2 separate regions of the Homo sapiens genome follow, and region 1 is linked to region 2. The links are contacts of gene promoters, found by promoter capture Hi-C in human tissues and cell types (Jung and others, 2019). All regions are on one chromosome and are shown on one strand. Each heading gives the region's core, a stretch centred on a gene start or on the middle of the fragment in contact. The rest is flanking DNA. Distances are from core to core; before and after follow the strand shown. Region 1 overlaps LOC105374945 (a long non-coding RNA gene). Region 2 holds the start of MYLIP (myosin regulatory light chain interacting protein).

Region 1 (6,479 bases), core at 3,456-5,955, 1.2 Mb after region 2:
CCTCCCTTCTCTCTTCCTTTGTCTCTTGCCATGCATTGCTAGTCCCCGTTTGTCTTCTGCCATGAGTAGAAACTTCCTGAGGTCCTCACCAGAAGCAGATGCTAACACCGTGCTTCTTGTGCAGTTGGCAGAACCGTGAGGCAAATAAACCTCTTTTCTTTCTAAATTACCCAGCCTCAGTATTCCTGTATAGTGATGCAAAGGGACTAAGACACCTTGTTGGGGATTATGGGAAGTCCTGGCCAGACTCATTTATATGGAAGACCTAGGCTTTGTGATGCAGGTGCAGATAAAGGAAGGTTACGTAGCTTGGGGCTTAGATGCAGAAAAGGGAACCTTTACAAGAGAAGGGATAGCAAGGATTTTAAGGTCTGGAATCTGGATGTTAGGCATGGGAGGTAGGGCTTACTGAGTGACAAAATCGTTGCTTTGCATGGTGGCATAGGTTGTTTTGGCATGGAGGCATGGACCTTCCTGAGGAGAAGAGGGAGGATCAAAGCCAGGAAGTCCCATTGTTGGTTTTTTTCTTGGACCTGGGAAGTGGCAGAGAGGACAGCTGCCGTTGGTGATTTGTGCTCCCTTCCCACAGTAAAGTTGTTGCTTTCTCAGCCCATCTAGATCCAGGTAGGGCCATGAAAGTGAGTTCCAGTCAATGGAATGTGGGCAGAAATGATGACGCCGCCTCTAGTCCTGGCCCCAGAACTTTCCTACAGGATCCTGTACATGTTTTCTCTTTCCAGGAATGCCAACTGACCTCAGCCCCCAGGGCCAGGGCATGGGGACCATGTGTGGAAGATGGCATAGCTTCTGTCAGGTGTGTTTACCATGGTTGTGTGAACTGAGTTTCCCTTCCCCCATTCTCCTCCTTCCCTCCATCCCCAACCACCAGTCTCTACCATTGATGTGAGCAAAATTAAATAACTCTGTATCTTGTGAAGCCCCTGAGAATTTGGAGTGTGCTCGTTATGACAGACAGCATTAGCCTAACTAACACACAGGGGATTCCTTATTCTTCATGGGCTGCTGGCCATTGTCCCCACCTTCGGCATATCCCCATGAGGCACAGTTAGAGGACACGGAGAAGCCATCCTCGCTGAGCCTGCTTCTTGGTCTGAGCCGTTCTTTCCTTTTCAGACATGCTAAAACTTGTGAGCAGAAATGATTACTATACTTGAGTTTTACTTTGGCCCTCCTCTGGAACAAAGCCTGATTCTTTCTAACCTGGACCTAGGACAAAATTGCTTTTGATTACTATTTGCTATTCTCTATGCAAACAACAAGCATTTATTAAACCCCTGGTTTTATCTGGCTAGTTTTGGGCTGGACAGAAAGAGATAGCAAAGAACACAGCCTGTCTTTCCAAATATTTTATAAATTTAGTAGAGACAGAGGAGATTCATGCAGAAGTCATCTAGAGGATAATATGATGCCATATGGGAATAGATTGTATAGGAATTCAGTGAAGGCATAGACTTGTGTGGATTGGCTTTATTGAAGAAGATACTAGGAGATCTAAGGGTTCTACTTGGCCTTGGAGGGAGACTGAGAACCAGAGAACAATGAGTAAGGATGGGCTCTGGTGTGAAGCCTGATATCCTCCTGCTTAGCACAAAAAGAAATTGTCACCTTTTCTTTGGAGCAGCAGAATTAAGTTTGGCCCAGTGAGATGGAGGCTCTCAGGTAACTGCAGCGGGCCAGAAGGGTGGGGAAACTGGGTGAGATGGACACATCTTGCCTCACAGTGATCCCACGGGAGGGGAGGAATTCAGGACCATGGGTTGGTTCCTCTTGTCTCCGGCCCCTGGGGGGGACGTGTATTAGTTTGTTTTCATGCTGCTGATAAAGACATGCCCGCGACTGGGAAGAAAAAGAGGTTTAATTGGATTTACAGTTCCACATGGCTGAGGAGGCCTCAGAATCATGACGGGAGGTGAAAGGCACCTCTTATATGGCAGCGGCAAGAGAAAATGAGGAAGAAGCAAAAGTGGAAACCCCTGATAAACCTGTCAGATTTCGTGAGACTTATTCACTGTCACAAGAATAGCATGGGAAAGACCAGCCCCCATGATTCAATTACCTCCCCCTGGGTCCCTCCCACAACATGTGGGAATTCTGGGAGATACAATTCAAGTTGAGATTTGGGTAGGGGCACAGCCAAACTATATCAGGACCCTACTTCCCTGGGGAGCTCTGCTGTAGCACATATCCCCTTAAACCAGGGGTGTGCTGAAGGCAACGCATTTTGGCTTAAGAGAGTTGATTAGAATTTTGTGAGCCAGTTGTTAAACACACCTATTATTATAAATTAAACTATAGTCTGGGTGTGGTGGCTCATGCTTGTAATCCCAGCACTTTGGGAGGCTGAGGCAGATGGATCACTTGAGCTCAGGAGTTTGAGATGAACCTGAGCAACATGATGAAACTCCGTTTCTACTAAAAATACAAAAATTAGCCTGGCCTGGTGACACGTGCCTGTGGTTCTAGCTACTGGGGAGGCTGAGATGGGAGGATCACTTGACCCTGGGAGGTGGACGTGGAGGCGGAGGCGGAGGTTGCAGTGAGCCAAAACTGCACCACTGCACTCCTGCCTGGGTGACAGAGTGAGACCACATCTCAAAAAACAAACAAACAAATATATATGTATGTATGTCTTACATGAACTTATACTAAATAAATTATAAAACTAAATAAGTGAACTTACAACTAAATAAATTAGATTAAAGTAAATATAATAAATACTCAAAAGTCATCACTTCCCAGGTGTTTTGCTGTTTCTTTCTTTTCTTTTCTTTTTTTCTTTGAGACAGAGTCTCACCTGACACCCAGGCTGGTGCGCAACGGCACAATATTAGCTCACTGCAACCTCCGCCTCCAGGATTCAAACAATTCTCCTGCCTCAGCCTCCTGAGTAGCTGGAATTACAGGCACCTGCCACCACACCCAGCTAATTTTTGTATTTTTAGTAGAGACGGCGTTTCACCATGTTAGCCAGGCTGGTATCAAACTCCTGACCTCATGATCCGCCCGCCTTGGCCTCTCAAAGTGCTGGGATTACAGGCATGAGCCACCGCGCCCAGCCTGTTTAGCTATTTGTTTTGTTTTGTTTTGTTTTTTGAGATGGAGTCTCGCTCTGTCACCCAGGCTGTAGTGTGGTGGCGCGATCTCGGCTTACTGCAAGCTCCGCCTCCTGGGTTCACGCCATTCTCCTGCCTCAGCCTCCCAAGTAGCTGGGACTACAGATGCCCGCCACATGCCCGGCTAATTTTTTTTTGTATTTTTAGTAGAGACAGGGTTTCACCGTGTTAGCCAGGATGGTCTTGATCTCCTGACCTCGTGATCCTCCCGCCTCGGCCTCCCAACTATTTTTTATTATCTATGCTCTAGAAGCTCTTTATGACTATTGTCACTGTACGGTGGTCTTATGGGTTCATTTGTGTTCCCTCCCTCCACAAATTCATATGTTGAAGTCCTAACCCCCAGTATCTCAGAACGTGACCTTATCTGGAAAGAGGGTTGTTGAAGATGTAATTAGTTCAGATGAGGTCATTAGGGTGGGGCCCTAGTCCAATATTACTGGTGTCCTTATAAAAAGAGGAAGTTTGGGCACAGAGAAATATGCACGCAGGGAGGATGTCACGTGAAGATGAAGGCAGAGATTGGGGCGATGCAGCAGAAGCCAAGAATCGCCCAACACGGCAGCAAACCATCAGGAGCTGGGAGAGACACAGGGAACAGATTTTCCCTCGGGGCTCACAGAAGGAGCCCCCCTTGCCCACACCTTCAACTTGGACTTGCAGTCTCCTGAACCGTGGAACAATGAATTTCTGTTGTTTGAGGCACTTGGTTTGTGGCACCTTGTGATGGCAGCCCTAGGAAACTCACACCAGTAGAAATATGACATTAGATTTCTACAAGCTGGTGAACACCACCTCCCCATACTCCTCGTGCAGTGACTTTGCATTGTTAGCTTGAAATAGCCACAGCAACTGATTTGTAAACAAACGCTACAAATCAGGCTGGATTTATTGTCTCATTGGTTGTCTAGACAAGGGGTTGGGAACTACAGCCTGTGGGCCAAATCTGGGCCCCCACTTGCTTTCATAAAAAGTTTTATTGGGACATAGCAGGGACGCTCTTTTGTGTTCCTGTTGTCGACGGCTGATTTGGCACTACAATGGCCCCGTTGAGTAGTTGTGACAGAGACCGAATAGCTCACAAAGTTAATATTTACTATCTGGCTCGTAAGAGTCAAATTTTATGGAACCCTTGGTCTAGACTTAAGGAAGTGAGGGAGATAATATTAAACATACAGATAAAACTTTAAAGTCTGCCTATCAATAGCCATTACTTTGTGAATGACACAAAAAAATTTGAGAAAATCTTCCTCCAGTCTTTGACAACTGTATCTGATTCTGTAAAGGAGTTGTTCCTATCATTGACGAATGAGTGGAATTCTGACACAGATCTTAGTTGTTTCACTTTCCTGTTGTTTACATAAATGAAAATAGCAACCAACAGCCATCCCAGAACTATACTTGTTCATCAGTTGCCACACTGGTTGGCTACAGAGAAGAGAGTTTGTCAAAAATCAATGGAAGTTGCTGGGTGTGGTGACTCATGCCTGTAATCACAGCACTCTGAGAGGCTGAGGCAGGAGGATGGGGCAGGAGTTCGAGACCAGCCTGGGCAACATAGTGAGACCCTGTCTCTGGTTATTATATTTAAAAATAAAAATAAGTAAAATAAAAATCAATGAAAGCATACATAAGAAACAATTGGCTATATGGAATTTACCAGATTGTGTGTATCATATAGCAGTAAAGTTTATAATAAACCTATGTGTTTACATCTACATATGCACACATTTTCTCTCCTGGAGAGCCACTTATTAAACTTTTATCAGCACGCCACTTCACCTAACCTCTGTGCGACACCTGCAGCTGGGCAGAGGACACATAGTTTGTGGGGCTGTTGCCATATGACTCTGGCCTTGGCTTGGTTTCACCACCATGCTGCCTAAGGGAGCACAGTTGGTAGAAACAACTGCGGTAGGAAGGCCCAGTGGCACGAAGGAACTGGGCTTGGCTACTCCCTGCCCTGGGGGATGGACAGTACGTACCAAGCTTCAGGGGTGAAGCAGGCCTGCTGATGAAGGGGTGCCAATGCAAATCCGAGGTTGGACTTGCTCCCACCAGTGATAGAAGTCCTTCAGCAAGGGAACAACAGGGTGACAGGCCTGATTTAAGAAGCCAGATTTGGTAACAATGTGAAGGACAGATTGGATGGGAACAACCAGCTCTGGGGCTGTCACAATCTGTGGTTTAGTAAACAGAGCTCAGAAAGTCCATGGCTCTGCCCTAGGCATGTTTTTTGGCATTTGTAAAAAAGGCTTGCAAAATGTTAAGAAATGGGATCCTTGCTTGACTGTAGAAGTCTCAATGGAACCCCAGAGCCTACAAAACAGAAAAATAGAAAAGCAATTCTGAAAAGCTTTGCCAAATGGCTGTCATGTGGCTTTCTACCATCCCTCTGTTGCTTTCTAGGTGCCTATTAGAAATGAAGAAATAGTTTGGCAGCGACCTTCCCTTGAAACAAGCAGTTATGGATGGAGGGCCTTGATTTGAAACTAAGACTGTGCATTTGCAGTAACTTGACAAGGCTCTTGGGTTCCATGGAGAATATATTGGGTGGGGCCGCCCACAGCACCTTGGGTTCATCTCTAGCAGGGCATGTCAACTCTTACCTGGTCTTCCCAGCCCGTGACGGCAGATGCCGGGACAGTTGCTCACCACATAGCAAAAGCTGCTCATGACATTGCAAACCCCTCACTACCCAGCAAGGCAATGACTTTAGTCAGTATCCTGTCCTCAGGATGGTCTTCTTACAGCTGCTTCTTTCCCCCAAGCCCAGGTTTGATTTTAGGTGGGAAGGATTTAAGAAACTTTAACTTAGGCCAGGTGTGGTGGTTGACACCTGTAAACCCAGTACATTGAGAGGTTGAGGCGGGATGATTGCTTGAGCCCAGGAATTCAAGACCAGGCTGGGCAACATAGTAAGACCCTGTCTCCCTCTGAAAAAAAAAAAAGAAACTGCAATTTGTTGCTCTGCCATCTGGCATGCAGCCCCGGACTTGTCCGCTACATCGGGTTCAGAACTGGCTGCTGGTCTGGAGCGTTTCTCCCAGTGTGGGGCTGGTCAGGTCTGCCTGTTCCTGGGGTCCCTGCTCAGTGTTACAGATGCCCTAGGACAGGGGTGCAGCCTGGTTCGTGGCAGTCCTCCTGTGGCCTTCAGAAATGGATCCTCACTCCGGGTTCCCAACCCACTGGGCTTGTAACTTGCTGACAAATATTCAGATAACTGCCTGTCTGCATGCATTTGTTCAGTCAGGATACTGACTGACATCACTGACTTGCTGGGTGGTGAGGGCTTATTGCTAGAATTTTCTTTTCTCCACTCAGCACTGGACTTCAGATATGTGG
Region 2 (6,163 bases), core at 100-2,599:
TCTAAACTGGAAAAACAAAGTTCCACGGCTCCAATGATACCAAACCACGAGCTCTAGTATGGAGGCTCATAATTCCTTTTAACGTCTAGGGCATGACCAATTGCAATAGAGAAAAAAGGAGTCCTCAAAAGTAGCCTTCCAAAAGATGAGGAGGGGAAACTACAGGGTATTTTCCTTCGTATTCCAATCACCGGAATTCCCTCCACCAGCATACTCTGCACAGCTGATTTTTGGCGACTTATTATCTGGGCAATTTTAACCATTTGGACTCCAAAAATCAAACACATTGAGGGAACACGCCACAAGTGTCAGCTAAGCTTCACAAGCGGTTTTCCAAACATCTCAGAGCTAGAGGGGTTGAGGGCACAGCGTTTTCCTGGGATCACATGTGCTGTCTGCCATACCACCTCTGCACTATTTGGCACCGATCTCCCTCACTGTTAAGGAAACACATGCTTAAAAACAACCGAGCAGTAGATGACCCAAACCTATTCCTCCCGTCCCCCGCAAACCCGGAGATGCAGGTGAACGGTGCATTTGAGAGCAGCAGCCTGAGAAGCAGCGTGAGACAAGGGCCCGGCTTGTCTGCCAAGAACCCCTGGGGCCCGAGACTGCTTCGAGCCACTCCATCCCATCCTGGCACGCGGGTGGCACTGCCAGGCGCCGCGGGGACCCGACAGGCGGCATCACGCACATACCTGCGGCAGGTGTGCGGAGCCGCCTTCTTCCGGGAAAGTGCTGGGTTGGGGGGATGATGGGGCGCTGGGGGGTGGATCCCGGCTGCGGGCTGCGCCCGGCCCTCAGCGCTGGGGACCCCCGCTGCGCGCTTTCTCCGCGCACCCCACGCGCGCCAGGAGGAGACCGCGCGCCCCACGCCCGTGGAGAGGAGGGGACGCGCTCCCCCCGGCTGCCGCCGCAGTGCCTCCCGGCCCCTAGTAGGGGGCGCGCCAGAGTGCCAGGCGTCGCTGCGAGGCCCCTCGGCCTCGCGGGACCCGCCGGGGCCCCTTCTTGCCCCTCGCCCTCACCTGGTTGAGGCAGTCCTCGCCGTTGGCTTTCGCCTCCACCTCCACCTCCATCAGCACCGCGTCCGGCCTCGTCACATAACACAGCATGGCTGGGGCTGCCGCTGCCGCCACAGCCGCCTTCTCTTTGGTGTGCGCGGGGCTGCCGCCTTGTCACTGGTGGGACCCAGCCCCGGACTCGGAGAGGGCTGGCCCTCGAAGGCTGCAGCTCTGCGGACCCTTGTCCGGGGCCCCGCGGCCGCCACTCGCGTCCCCGCCACCCCCTCACCCGCTGCCCGCCAGCTGCCCCTGTCCTCCGCGGTGGCGCCGCACTCCAGCAGCCCAACTGCCTGCGCTGCGACAGGGACTCTGCTGATATAGCGGCCCCGCCCCCTTCAGCTCGGGTCCCCGCCAATCACGGCCTCCCTGCCCCTCCTCCCCCGCCCGATCAGCCAATAGCGGCGCCCCTCGACCGCGGCCCCCGCCTCCCAGAGCCGGCTGAGTTTCCCTGGCCGCCCCGGGAGGTGGCAGCTTGCGGGCGCCGAGTGCTGCGGGAAGGGAGGGAGACCCCGGAACACACCAGCCGCCTCTGTCCGCTGGGCGACGCTGCTCAGAGTGAGCGATCGCCCGGGGCTCCAGGCGGGGACGCCTTTCTGCCGTCTCGAATTTACGGTGATTAAACACCTCCAAGCTGCCACTGTTCTTCAAATATCTTGGATCACTCTGAGCACGCATTTCGGTTGTGAAAGCAAAAAGGAAAAGGAGCAACCCAAAGCCTAAAGAAAACTGTTCTCGTCCGGGCATGGTGGCTCACGCCTGTAATCCCAGCACTTTGGGAGGCCGAGATGGGTGGATCACCTGAGGTCAGATTCGAGACCAGCCTGGCAAACATGGTGAAACCCCCGTCTCTACTAAAAATACAAAAAAAAAAACAAAATAGCCAGGCGTGGTGGCGGGCACCTGTAATCCCAGCTACCTGGGAGGCTGAGGCAGGAGAATCGCTTGAACCCAGGAGGCGGAGGTTGCAGTGAGCTGAGATTGTGTCACTGCACTGTAGCTTGGGCAAGAAGAGCAAAAAACCCTGTCTCAAAAAAAAAAAAAAAAAAAAAAAAAAAAAGAAAAGAAAAAGAAAAAAGAAAAAAAAAAGAGAAAAAGAAAACTCTTTTCCACCAGGATTAGCCACAGTGGGTTGCTTGGAGGCAGAATTGTTGTTCCTTATTAAGACCTCATCATTGAGAAAAACAAAATCTGAGTATGAAAGTTTTTGCAGCTGACCAGTGAGCCAGGTGTCTTGGTCTAGTGCTGGTGTGTTACACTCCGGAAGGGCTTCTCCTTACTCGTTCTGCTGAATCAAAACGCCTTACAGGGTACCAGGCCCTCTCTCAGGTTGCTCATTCTACCTCCTGTCTTATCTCACTCATTCATTAAACATTTGTGCAGCACCTGATACCCTGCCTGTCCCTTCTCACAGGCAACCAGATGTTGTCCTCGTCTTAAGGTAAGGTGCTCATCTCCTGACCTAACAGGTGGCATTACTGCAATATTAGCTATTAAAGGTCTACAACCCTTCACTCATTTACCGCTTGTTCCTCTTTGCCAATATATTACATAGCCTACCTTTTTGATTTCTTTATAGGAGCCAGATGATGTGGGTTTCAGCCGTGGAAACTTAGCAAACTTACTTCAGGCCAGCTCGATGGCTCACACCTGTAATCCCAGCACTTTTGGAGGCCGAGGCAGGAGGATCGCCTGAGCCCAGCAGTTTGAGACCAGCCCGGTTTCGCAACACAGCGAAACCCCATCTCTACACAAAATACAAAAAATTAGCCAGGCGTGGTGGCGCCTGCCTGTAGTCTCAGCTACATGGGAGGCTGAGGTGGGAGGATCACTTGAGCCTGGGAGTTCGAGGCTGCAGTGTGCTGTGATCCCCCTACTGCACTCCAGCCTAGGCGACAGAGCAAAAGACCCTGTCTCTAAACAACAACAACAACAAAAAGAAAACAACGAAAGAAAAAAAAAGAGAAAACTTACTTCATCTGTCTGAAGCTTGGTGTTGTCAACAGTAAAATGGAGATGGCAATATCTGCTCTGTCTCCACCCAGCATTGTTGGGAAGCGCAGCAAAGATAATAACGTTCACAAAAGCATTTGAATGTCCCCGTGTATGTAAGGGGAGCTATAAGTTCAGTGCCTTCACTGCTTAATGATGACTTTTCCTGTCCCTACCCCCCTTCACGAGTCCCAAGGATCTGTTAGTGGCCTTTATTTCCGAACAACCAGGTACGATATCAGAGCCCAAGGCTAAAAAAAAAGGAGGGATCCTCCCACACACAGTTCTTTGCTAAAGCTGACCGAGTAAAACTGTAAACTGTCCAAGTCCTAACCCCCACTGTTGCAGAGGAACAGGTGCACTCTCACATCTTTCTGTCTTATAAATACACCTCATGCTATTGTGGGCTGAAACAGTCCCTTCTTGTATTAACTGCAGTGCCTATTCCCTGAATTCCAGTTTACTAATAATCTGGGGAATTTATCTGGAAGATAGCGTTTGGTTCATTCCTTGTCTACTTTATGCTTAATTGCTAGAAGTTTCAGAAGAGGAAGAAGAGGCGAGGGGCAATAGGGAGACCAGTTATATTGGTTAGTATTTTTGTTTATGAACAATAGAAACTAAAGCTGGCTAACTGGAAACTCATAGAATCAATGGGACCAGGTGTGGAAATGAGTAGAACGGGAAAATATTGGTTGGCCAAGAAAAAAAAAATAAACAAAAATAAAACAAGCAAACACCCAAACCAAATACCCACTTTGTGGACTACTTTAAAAATAACTTATATTTTTGGTTTTAGCAGGGATTTTTCTTTTGCAAGTATGATTTCATTGTTTTTTTAAAAAATCTAAGCTTGTAAAATAGTTTGTAGAAGCATAGGTAAAATCTGACATGTTTATTTTATTTAAAACTTTTTGGCCAGGCGTGGTGGCTCATGCCTGTCATCCCAGAGCCCTGGGAGGCCGAGGCAGGCAGATCCCTTGAGCCCAGGAGTTTGAGATCAGCCTGAGCAAAATGGCAAAACCCCATCTCTACTAAAAATATAAAAAATTAGCCAGGCATGATGGCATGTGTCTGTAGTCCCAGATACTCAGCGTGCTGAGGTGGGAGGATGGCTTGAGTCCAGAAAGTCCAGGCTTCAGTCAATCATGATCTCACCACTGCACTCCAGCTTGGCCGAAGGGAGTGAGACCCTTTCTCAAACAAAACAAAAAACAAACAAAACCCCACATTTTTCATAGTTTTGTTGTTGTTGTTGTTGTTGTTTAGACAGAGTTTTGTTCTTGTTGCCCAGGCTGGAGTGCAATGGCATGATCTTGGCTCACTGTAGCCTCCGACTCCCTGGTTCAAGCAATTCTCCTACCTTAGCCTCCCGAGTAGCTGGGATTATAGGCACGCGCCCCCACACCCGGCTAATTTTTTGCTTTTTTAGTAGAGACAGGGTTTTGCTATGTTGGTCAGGCTGGTCTCGAACTCCTGACCTCAAGTGATCTGCCCGCCTTGGCCTCCCAAAGTGCTGGGATTACAAGTGTGAGCCACCGCCCCGACCTATTTTTAACAATTGTCATTTGCACAATAGTTGGAAGTAGAAGATTTACAAGAATTTTTTTTTTTTAATTTTTTTTCAGAGACAGAGTCTTGCTCTGTTGCCAGACTAGAGGGCAGGCAGTGATGTGAAAATAGCTCACTGCGGCCTTGAACTCCTGGGCTCAAGCAGTCTTCCCGCATCAGCCTCCAGCGTAGCTGGGACCACAAGCAGGTGCCACGACACCCAGTTAATTTTTGTATTTTTTTGTAGAGATGGGTGTCTCGCTATGTTGCTCAGGTTGGTCTCAAACTCCCGGGCTCAAGCGACCCTCCTGCCTCTGCCTCCCAAAGAGTTGGGATTACAGGTGTGAGCCACTGTGCTCGTGACAGGGATATTTCTAATCCAAACCCAGATAGTGCTTCTGCTATAGGATGGTTGGTGAAGATTTCAATTGTTTTGAAATTAAGAATCCCCAGATAAGACTGAAGAGAAGGATTTCTTAAAACAAAAACAAAGCTAAAAATAGGAAAATGGCACTTGGGGGTGGGAGGGGCGGGCAGTAAGAAATCCTTATGACTGGGAAGCAAAAAAAAAAAAAAAAAAAAATACTGGCTTCCCACTAGCATGTATGGAATATACTGGACCATGACCCCTCTCTCTCCTCGCTTTCTCTCTCTGTCTTTTCTCTCCATCTCTGTTTTGTAATTTATTCCTTGAGTAGAGCTAAGGAGAGACTGGTTAGTTACAGAATGAGGAGGCTGAGTGAGCTGGTGAGAAAGCACATTATGCTCAAAAGACCTGGTTAGGGAATAGAAAACCCGCAGTAGAATTACTTCCTCGAGGATTCCACCATCTGCTAATGCTGCTGAATGTCTGGAGCCAGTTTCAAGCCCCAGCTGGGTCTAACTCCAAATAAGAGACTCTGAACACCCAGGGTGGGAACTATATTAGATTGAGCAGTGATTGAAGCCAGAGAGATGCCCAAGTTATCTGTGTCTGCTCTCTTTTTCTCTCAATTAGCTCTCATCTTTTAAAGATAGCATTAAAATTAACCAGCATAGTGGAAAAAAAAAGGTCAGCTGTATGAATATAGAATTTAAAAATAGAAACCATAACTAGGCGGTAGAGTTGGCTAACCCAGTGGAGTTCTAGCTGTTCAGACACACCCAAGCACCACAGATTTTCTCTGTCTCACATACTAGGGCTCAAGACTGAGCACTAGATGGTATTTGTGTGGATGTGATGATCATTTGGCTGCAAAATCTTCCTTCTAATTGAGCACTGGGTCTGATCTGGATGGCTGGGTACCTATCTCTGTGCATTGCATTCTCAACACTGCGTGCACTGCTGCAGAAACCCTATGCTGGGTCTCCAGAGAAGGACAGCCTTCATCACCTGCCACACCCTTCTCTCTGCCTCTCAACGTTCATTTGTAGAAGCACTGAGGGAAGAACAATTAGTGACTGCCTAAGAAAACCGTCATTTTGCTTTCACACATTATTCAAGCTAATGGTTCACATAAGTAACACTTCATCAAGCACAAGTATGTTAGAATATGTCAAATGAGCTGAAATCTCTCATTTGA

Evidence for each region. The method cuts DNA at HindIII sites, captures the fragments that hold promoters and counts their contacts. A contact is called where the count stands out against the background at its distance.
Region 1: a contact is called between a fragment that was not itself captured here and the fragment with the promoter of MYLIP in region 2, in 1 of the 25 tissues and cell types used here (lymphoblastoid cells).

What each region holds. Positions count from the first base shown.
Region 1 is chr6:14,887,476-14,893,954 of GRCh38, reverse strand. All of the region lies in intron 2 of LOC105374945 (a long non-coding RNA gene), which reads left to right. Among named protein-coding and RNA genes, the nearest start is that of JARID2-DT, 350 kb to the left of the region's middle. RefSeq lists a silencer at 1,671-1,871. The HindIII fragment of the contact is 4,509 bases long and covers 2,451-6,479 here.
Region 2 is chr6:16,124,272-16,130,434 of GRCh38, reverse strand. It overlaps MYLIP (myosin regulatory light chain interacting protein), which reads right to left and starts at 1,349. Exons shown (of 7, transcript NM_013262.4): 1 at 1,026-1,349. The coding sequence starts at 1,112. RefSeq lists a silencer at 668-1,667. The HindIII fragment of the contact is 3,904 bases long and covers 1-3,475 here.